Regions from separate parts of the Homo sapiens genome. Here region 2 is linked to region 1. Evidence: promoter capture Hi-C in human tissues and cell types (Jung and others, 2019). All regions are on one chromosome and are shown on one strand. Each heading gives the region's core, a stretch centred on a gene start or on the middle of the fragment in contact. The rest is flanking DNA. Distances are from core to core; before and after follow the strand shown. Region 1 holds the start of PTK2 (protein tyrosine kinase 2). Region 2 overlaps AGO2 (argonaute RISC catalytic component 2).

What was found. The method cuts DNA at HindIII sites, captures the fragments that hold promoters and counts their contacts. A contact is called where the count stands out against the background at its distance.
Region 2: a fragment that was not itself captured here is called in contact with the fragment with the promoter of PTK2 in region 1 in 1 of the 25 tissues and cell types used here (dorsolateral prefrontal cortex).

The regions. Positions count from the first base shown.
Region 1 is chr8:140,999,787-141,004,276 of GRCh38, forward strand. It overlaps PTK2 (protein tyrosine kinase 2), which reads right to left and starts at 1,496. Exons shown (of 36, transcript NM_001352702.2): 1 at 1,339-1,496. RefSeq lists silencers at 1,161-1,490, 1,511-1,930. The HindIII fragment of the contact is 8,254 bases long and covers 1-2,970 here.
Region 2 is chr8:140,583,187-140,587,987 of GRCh38, forward strand. AGO2 (argonaute RISC catalytic component 2) reads right to left here. Exons shown (of 19, transcript NM_012154.5): 2 at 1,933-2,125. Among named protein-coding and RNA genes, the nearest start is that of ERICD, 49 kb to the right of the region's middle. The HindIII fragment of the contact is 7,107 bases long and covers 1-4,801 here.

The sequences.
Region 1 (4,490 bases), core at 246-2,745:
ACTGGTCTGTTTTTCCAGCCATGAAAACGTTTACATTCTAAGTAAAAATCCTAGCGATGGTTAAGTCTTAAATACAAATCCCCAAACTCTTGCACTGCCTTCAGCTTTCAGCTTGAATGTATAACCAGTTCCCATAATTACTACAATATTACTATTATCTTAGTCTCATTGCCAAAAACCCAGCTGCAGGCTAACTATGCAAGAATGAGACACTGTTGAAATGACTCGGAAAAAAAAAAAAAAAGAAACTTTACCCTCACTGAATTTAGCTACAAAATTCTGCAATTAAATGAAACCAATTCACACACACACACACACACACACACACACACACACACACCCCTTCTTCTAAGAAAGAACAGGATGCCGCTACACAAGGAACCCAGAGAGAAATTCGGCAAACAGTTGCGCCTAAGCCACCGCGGCAGAGTCGGGGGCTGGGGGCGGGGAAGAGGAGAAAACTTGGGAAGCACAATGACTCCAGTGAGGACTTCAGTGAGGGCTCCAGGGCTCCCGCCAAGAAGCCCACGGGGCTCTACCAAACTTGAGGGTTTGCGTTCGGGGACACGGCGGGCTTGGGGCTCGGGCACCGGCAGGCCGCTCGGAGCCCACCCTTGGCTGCCCGCGAGGCCGCGCCCGGGGGACGGAGGTCGGGCCGTCGCGAGCCTCCCTCTCGCGTCCGGGCGAACCCTGCCGACGTCCCTGCGATTTCCCTCTTCCTCCTCCTGCCTCTCCCCTTTTGTTTTTCAGGCATTGGGTCCGCTCCGGCGGAGGCCGGCCCGTCCTCCCCGCGCCTCTGTCCGCCCTGCGCGCCCCCAGAGCCCCGGCCTCCTCGTCTTCCTCAGGCCCCTCGGCCTCTCCGCGCGCCCGGCCTTTTCGAAAGCCGCCCCCCCCTTCCTCCTCACGTCTCCCGGACTCCCCACGTCCCCCAGCCTTTCTGTCTTCCCCGAACCCCTTGGCCTCCCCGCGCGCCCCCAAAACCCCCGACCTCCTCGAGCTCCCGGCCTCCCCACGTCCCTCAGCCTCCCAGTCTTCCCCAAGCCTCCCGACCACCCAGCGCCCCGAACCCCCGCCTCCCAGCGCGCCCCCTGACCTCCTTAAGCCTCTCGGCCTCCGCGAGGGCCCCCAACCTCCTCACGGCCACCGGCCTCCCCTCCTCCCAGAACCCGGGCCGGGGGCGCGGGAGGGGCCGGTCTCCGCCGCATCCGCCCCGGGACTGGTTGGGCGGCCCCGCTCTGCCCCTCCGCCCTCAGGGCCGCGGCCCAGCCCACGACCGCTGCACAGAAGGAGCCCGCCCAGCCCCCGACCCGCGCCCCGCGCCCGGCGCCCCGCACTCACTCGGACCGCGGCTCGGCGCCGTGAAGCGAAGGCAGACGACGACGGGGCGGCGCTGGGCGACAGCAGCCGCGCTTCCTCCCACGCCTCACGCCGCGGGCTCACAGTGGTCCGGGACCGGCGGCGGCGGCGGCGGCGCGGGCTCGCGCCCTCGAGGCCGTGCTGCGTCGGCGCGGGCCCGCGCGCGTGCGCGGCAGCCGGCTGAGGCGCGCGTCCTCTCTCGGCAGCGCACGCCCGACCCGGTCTCAGTCCGGAGTTCCCGCCTCTCGGGGGGACTGGGCATGCGCGCCGCCCCCGCGCATGCCCAGCGCGCCGCTAGGCTCTGCTCGCGTAATTTGTCCTGTAGTGACCGCGCCGGGGTTTCGGGGTGGCCCGAGGCTGCGCGCGGGCGTGGCGGCCGGACGAGGAAAGCCCTGGTCTCGGGGGTGGCCGGGGTCGCCCCGCCGAGCGGACATCCTGGGGTCCCACCTGCCTCGCTCTCCGCCAGCGGGATTAGACGGACTTCGGGAAAGTCCTCCCCATCTCCTTCCCTGCCCCCAAATCCCGAAGGGGTCCCCTCTGGAGAACCTCCCTCCTGAGCGGCCCTGCGGCCCCGCCCCCAGAGTTGGACGCCCGCTGTCGGGCACCCGCTGCGGGCCCCGGGCCTTGCAGTGCACTCTCCAGGCACCACACCGACCCTAACGAGCGGTTCCTGGGCCCTTTTTGCAGACAAGGAAACTGAGGCTCAGAGATTCTTTTCATGGCATTATAGCTAAGTTGGGCTGGGCCATTATTTGATTTTGGAAGATGAAAAATCATGAAAGGGACTTAGAAGTCCACTGGAGGTAGACAGGTTACCTAAATGAACGCCAGCAGGGAACGAGCCCTGCAATCCCTCCCGAGGGCTACAGACCTGAGACGGGCTCCAGGAAAAGGAGGGAAGGCTCGCCCCGACACCGACCCGGGCTTCCGCGGTGTGAGCCAGTTTCAGCGAGGAGCTAGTTGGTTATGACCGGAACGTGCCGTAGGTGGGGTGGGGGAAATAGCAAAAGGCGAGGTTGGAGGGATTGAAAAATGCAGACGGCTGCGTGGGGCTTGCTTAGGTGCCTGGAGTTTATTCTTTAGGCAACAGGGAACCTTTGGAGGGCTTTAAGCAGGAAGTGATAACTGATTTGTGTTATTTAAAAAAAAAAAAAAGTCACTCTGGCAACCTTGTGGTCGGAAATGAAACCAGAAGAACCCTCAAGGCTGCAACTTTCATTTTTATGGTGTCATTTTGATGCTAACCACAAGCCAGGAAGCAGGACAGACAGGCACCGAGGCCTTTTGAAAGGTGAACACCCTGAAGCCCAGAGAGGTGACACACGTCATTGCATTAGGAGCTTTTATAAAAGTAAAAATGAAGTAAAATAAAAAGCTTTTGCTTATCAAGATTTTACCATATTTAAATGTTTGGGTTGTATTGTTCTTTAATGAGATGTATTAAGGTTGGTGTTTTTCTGGGTTTTGTTACTTTTTACTACATATGAAATTGTAAGGAATTGCCTCTCCATGCCAGCCTCAGGCCTTTGCGCGTGCTATTTGCTCTGCCTGGAACTTCTTGCTCCTCACTTCGTTCAATACCCTGCTTATATATCACCTCATTGATACAGCCGACCACTTCATATAATAGGAACCACCCACTGCCCTGCTATCCTCACACACAGTCCGCACTTAGTCTGCTCTGTTGTTCTCCAAAGCACCTATTGTTCACCATAGCCCAACACTGTGTTCTTGTTTATTTCTTGATTGTCCGCTCTCTCCACTAGAATCTTAGATTCATTAGAGCACGGGCTTTGTTTTGTTCACTAATAGGTCCTGGCACACAGTAAGTATTTGTCAAGTGAATGAACGAAGCTTTGGGTGATGTGAAGTGAGAGCTTATTATTAAAAGGATAAGAAAAGCATGGGAATTAAAAGAGGAGAGTGGAGGCACAAAGGGACTGCATTAAGGATAACTTTGGGGGAAGGGGCTGCACTTAGCATAGTAGACTAAAAATGGCCATCAATTCTTTGACACTTTTCCCAAGAAGAGGTGGAATTTATTCACCCCTTGAATGTGGATGGGATCTTGTAACTTGCTTTGACCAATGGGATGTGTCACAAGTGACATTGTACAAATTCCAAGCCTAGGCCTCAAGAGGCCATGCTGCTTTCATTTTCCCCCCTTAAGCCCAAGCTAGCCTCACGAGGAGGCCGTGTGGAAGAGAACTGAGGCACCCTGGCCAACAAGGTGCCACCTCCAGACATGTGAGTGAGCTGTACTAGACCACCCAGCCCCTGTGAAGCATACATAAGACCTGGAGAGACTGATGGAAGAACTGCCCAGCTGAATCCAACCCAAATTGCCAAACCACAGAATTGTGAGCCAATAAAATACATGTGGTTTTAAGCCTTTAGGTTTTAGGGTAGTGTGTTACACAATATTGTTTCCTGGACTCTGCCACGATACATTTGAAATTGACGTTCTTGAAGGGCAGCTTTGGTTATTATTATGCTTAGTAAAAGAAGAAATCAGAAAACGGCGGGAAGAAGTGATGCAAAGGAGAAGGGCAAACAGAGATACAAACGGGAAAAGGGACAAACCTAGGAAACAGTGGCTTGTCTTACCTCTTGGGCACACTTTGTGGTGCCTGAGAACTCAGGTTTAGGAGTAAGATGAACATTGGCACAGACCCAGGCTTAAGTTTAACCATTCACCAATAAACCTGTGAAGGTTGTATAATGTCTCTGAGCCTCAATTTCTCATCTGTGAAATGGAGGCTCTAAAGGATGTACATTAGAATTAGGCTGTAGAGAGGCCGGGCACGGTGGCTCACACCTGTAATCCCAGCACTGTGGGAGGCCAAGGCGGGTGGATCATGAGGTCAGGAGATTGAGACCATCCTGGCTAACAAGGTGAAACCCCGTCTCTACTAAAAATACAAAAAAATTAGCCAGCGTGGTGGCGGGCGCCTGTAGTCCCGGCTATTCGGGAGGCTGAGGCAGGAGAACGGCGTGAACCCGGGAGGCAGAGCTTGCAGTGGGTGGAGATGGCGCCACTGCACTCCAGCCTGGGTGACAGAGCAAGACTCCATCTCAAAAAAAAAAATTAGGTTGTAGAGGAAACAAACCATTCTCATAAAACAGCAGGGTGC
Region 2 (4,801 bases), core at 1,011-3,510, 420 kb before region 1:
TTATAGCAGCAGCCCTGTGGGTTCCAGGTCTTTGGCTTCCCTGATTATAAGGCTTTCAGACTTGGCCTGAGCCCCGCTACTGACACTCCAGGGTCTCCAGCTTGTAAATGGCCTGCTGTGGGACATCTTAGCCTCTACAATCATGTGAGCCAATTCCCCTAATAAATCCCCTCTCATATCTATAGATATATGTACAGTCATGCGTGGCTTAACCATGGGGATATGGCCTGAGAAATTCACTCAGGCAATTTCATTGCAGTGTGAACATCATAGAGTATATTTACATATACCCAGGAGGTAGAGTCTACCACACACCTAGGCCACAAACCTGTACAGCACACGACTGCTGAACACGGCAGGCAATTGTAACACCATGGTAAGGATGTGTACATCTACATATACCTAGGTCGGGCCCAGTGGCTCATGCCTGTAATCCCAGCACTCTGAGAGGCTGAAGCAGGCAGATCACTTGAGGTCAGGAGTTCAAGAGTAGCCTGGCCAATATGGTGAAATCCTGTCTCTACTAAAAATACAAAAAATTAGCCAGGTGTGGTGGCAGGTGCCTGTAATCCCAGCTACTTGGGAGGATGAGGCAGGAGAATCACTTGAACCCAGGAGGTGGAGACTACAGTGAACTGAGTTCATGCCACTGGACTCCAGGGTGACAGAGCAAGACTCCATCTCAAAAGAAAAAATAAAAAAATCTAAACTCAGAAAGGGTAGCGCATTGCTCTACTACGTTACGTGGGCTATGATTTCAGCTCCCTTACAATCTTTTGGGACCACGGTGGTATATGTGTCTGTCACTGGCCAAACGTTGTCATGCGGTACATGACTGTATCTCTATCCTATTGGTTCTGTCGCTCCGGAGGATGCTTACAAATGCAATGTACATCTAGAATATACTAAAAACTCTCACGGATCAATAACAAAAAGACAAGAAACTCAGTAAAAAAAAAAAAAAAAACAAAACAGGCAAAATACTTCAACACTTTGCTGGAAATAATATATCACTTAATCGATGAAAATAATATATAAACACATGGAAAGATGCTCAGCTCATCAGGTACCAGAGAAATGAAAATTAACCACAATGAGAAACCACTACTCACCCACCGAAACACACAAAAAAACACGCCTGACCACACCGCGTGCTGGTGGGGGTGGGTGGCCTTGGAAACACTCAGCGGAGCTGACGGGAGGAAAACGTGATGGGAGCATGGGAACACCATTTATTTGGCAGGTTCACATGCAGCTAAACACACAGCTGCCCTTCGGCCCAGCAATTCTACTCCTAGGTATTTATTTAAGAGAGACGAAAACACCTCCACAAAAAGAACTTCAACAAGAACGTTCACAGCAGTCTTATTCATAATGGCCACAGCCTAGACTGCCCATGTGTTTAAAAGGAAGATGAAAAACAGACTACGAAATAGGCAATAGAGTATTTAGCAATAAAAATAAGCTACAAATACACACAACGGCGCAGGTGGGTCTCATAAATTCTGCTGAGTAAAAGCAGTCGGGATTGAGGGTGTGTCACTATACAGACCTGGAAACTAATCTATGTGACACACATCAGAATGCCGTGACTTTAGGGGCTGGGGGTAACCGGAAGAGGGTATGAGGCAACTTTCTAGGGTGATCAGTATATACATTTGTCGAAATTCTTCCAGTTGTGCATTTACGATGTATGTATTTCACTATCCTGAAACTGTGTCTCAATACAAAAACTTGGTATATATTTATATATATATTTTTTTCAATCCGTAGGTTTGACTCTGAAAAACTGTTTTTGAAAAGCAAATGCAGCTGAAACGTTCTGGAAAAAACCCAGATGGATCTGCTGAGAATTTCAGAGTTGATTAGTTTAAATGCCGTGTCTGTCCGCGCAGACCACTTACACAGGTCATGAAGGATGAAACGTAATACCTGTTAACTCTCCTCGGGCACTTCTCTGGCTTGATATCCAATTCATAATGATAGATGTCAATTTTGGGGATGTCCATTTCGAAGAAATTGGCCTGTAATTTGATTGTTCTCCCGGAGGTCCCAAAGTCGGGTCTAGGTGGAGGCTTGAAGGCATATCCTTGGATGGGGGGCGGCGGCGCAGGAGGTGCAAGTGCTGGAATGGCAGAGAGAACACCCATTAACGGGGGAGCAGGCTTGCTCTGCGGCCCTTCCCATCCCGCGGCCCCAAGCCACTATATGCCCCCCTCTGCTGTTTCCATTCACGTCCAGGCCAATATTGCATTCCACAGAGGAGGCGTCTCAACGTCAAGCCAATAATGTACTTAAAATGTATCATAACAACTCATTGGTGATCAAACTTGCTATGTCCATTCCTGTTCTTTCTTCCTGTCTCAGACACTGGAGAGATGAGGCAGCATGAATTACTAGCACGGGAGACAAGGCAAAGAGCCCAAAAGTGTCAAGGCGGTGCCCCTCCCTTGCTGCTGCTTAAACCGCTCGTTTACTCAGGAAGCGCTTTTTACTATGCATAAGCGGCAGAAACTTCATCCCAACTCAAGTTTTCAGTGGCTCCATATTAGTAAAGTTCAAAATGTAGATTTAGAAAAATAAACATTTTTCAATAATAGAACGCTTTCAATTTTCACTCAAATGTCTGTTTAAAAAAAAGACAACCCTTCTCCATTTAAAAAAAATCACATGTACTTCAATCCCTATTGACATTCACTGGAAAGAAAAAGAACTCTACTAAAAATAATATGAGCTGTTCTTACTGTATTTCTGACCTAGAAAAACTCAGAGACTCCTTGAATTATTTGCTTTTTTGTTTGTTTGTTTCCTATGAGAAAACTAACATGCTTTCAAGGTTATTAAACTCACTGAGTTACACCATTTGGAAATGGTTATGGCAGCATGGCCTTCCACCAAGTCGCCATGACTTCATAGATGACACATCTACAGACTTCCATGACACTCCACCCTTCAATGGCACTCAGCGGGTGCCCCTGTGGGCTGGGCACCATGCCCTGGGCCAAGGCTACAAAAATAAAGTCAGGCTGGGTGCAGTGGCTCACACCTATAATCCCAGCACTTTGGGAGGCTGAGGCGGGTAGATTACCTGAGGTCAGGAGTTTGAGACCAGCCTGGCCAACATGGTGAAACCCTATCTCTACTAAAAATACAAAAATTATCTGGATGTGGTGGCACGTGCCTGTAGTCCCAGCTACTCAGGAGGCTGAGGCAGGAGAACCGCTTGAACGCGGAGGTTGCAGTGAGCCGAGATCATGCCACTGCACTCCAGCCTGGGTGACAGAGCGAGACTCCATCTCTAAATAAATAAACAAAACAAACAAACAAACTGAGTCCTCAAGCAGCACCCATGCTGCCACCAGGGACAGTTTCCAGGTGTCAGTCATCCACAGGATGACGTCTGATGACTTTTCATAAGCTCAGCAGCTCACCAAGATCCTTCCCAGCAAGGACCCTGACCGTGACAGGGAGTGGACATCACAGTCCAGGTGGGTTCAGTGGAGACAGCCACTCCCCTGAGGACCGACTGAGCTTCTCTCTACGCCACACCGGAGTAGAACAAAGCACTTGCCAACACGTGGCCCTGTTCTCAGGTGGCTCCAACCACCCAGTGAGACGGCTCCCAGGAAACGTCTAGGACAGAGCCCGGGAATCTGGCCCTGTGGCCAATCTCGATTTCAGGGTCGGGCACGCTCCTCTCGGGGAGGAGAGTCACTGTCCTTCGGTGACTCCCAGCTTACAAGGTGCTCATGCAGTTACTTAACCGAGCCTCACAACCATACCACAAAGGGGCACACCGCTGGCTGCAAGAAGGTTTTGGGCTGGAACACGAGCTACTTGCAGGTGAAGCAAAGCTGCTGGGCCGGCTCCAAACCAGGCCCCTCCACCGGGCCCCCAAGCAGAGTCCAGGCACAGACGCAGCTCGAGCCCAGGGCTCAGGCTGACCCTATTTCTCCTAAGAAGCCTTCCCCGAGACTACCTCCTCTGCAACACCTGGCATGGGAGGCGGGAAACCTGCACGCAGCCTGGTACTAACCCCTGTGAATAAAGGCAATGGGAAAACACAGCGGTAATTCATAAAACATGCAATTTCCTAAGATAGTTCTTTCTTGCTTCTAGCTTTCAATAATGAAAATACTGATACTTCACGTGAAGGCACGTGGAATATAAAATTACAAGTTAAAGATGTAAAAGTTTTCCAGGCAGAGGGGCCAGGGAAGGTCCACCTTCCCGTACCTTCAGGAAGGCAACTCCACTGCCAAGGACGCCTCTGCAGGCCTTAGACCTTGGGGTGCCTGAAATCCACTCTGATCACTCACAGGGAGTCCCACGTGTAAGCTGCAGATACAAGCTGGAGGATCAAAGCCAAAGCGTGCAAGAGGAGACAGAGCAGAAGTGTGCAGACACAACCCCCATGCACGAGGAAGATGGGGATGACAAGAAGGGCACTGGATGCCCACCCTGGGCTGTGAGCCCCTGGCCCCGACAGGTGAATAATGCACCAAGGTGTGGACCACATGTACAAGAGGCCACAAGACACGGATGGGCCACATACGCACTTGTCACATTTGACACGGATGGTTCCAAAAGGGAATTCTAACACCACCTAGGGATGCGCTCTCCATGTGCTCTCTGTTAAAGAAACGAAAGCCCACAAGGAGGAGACATCTGGGATGCCTTCACCAAGAAGATGCCACCACACTGGCATTCACGGAGCAGGTCCTGGCTCCCACTGCCTGTCCAACAGCCGAGTCCCAAATCCCTGGCCTGCATCCAAGACTCGACCTCACCTCCCCACTAC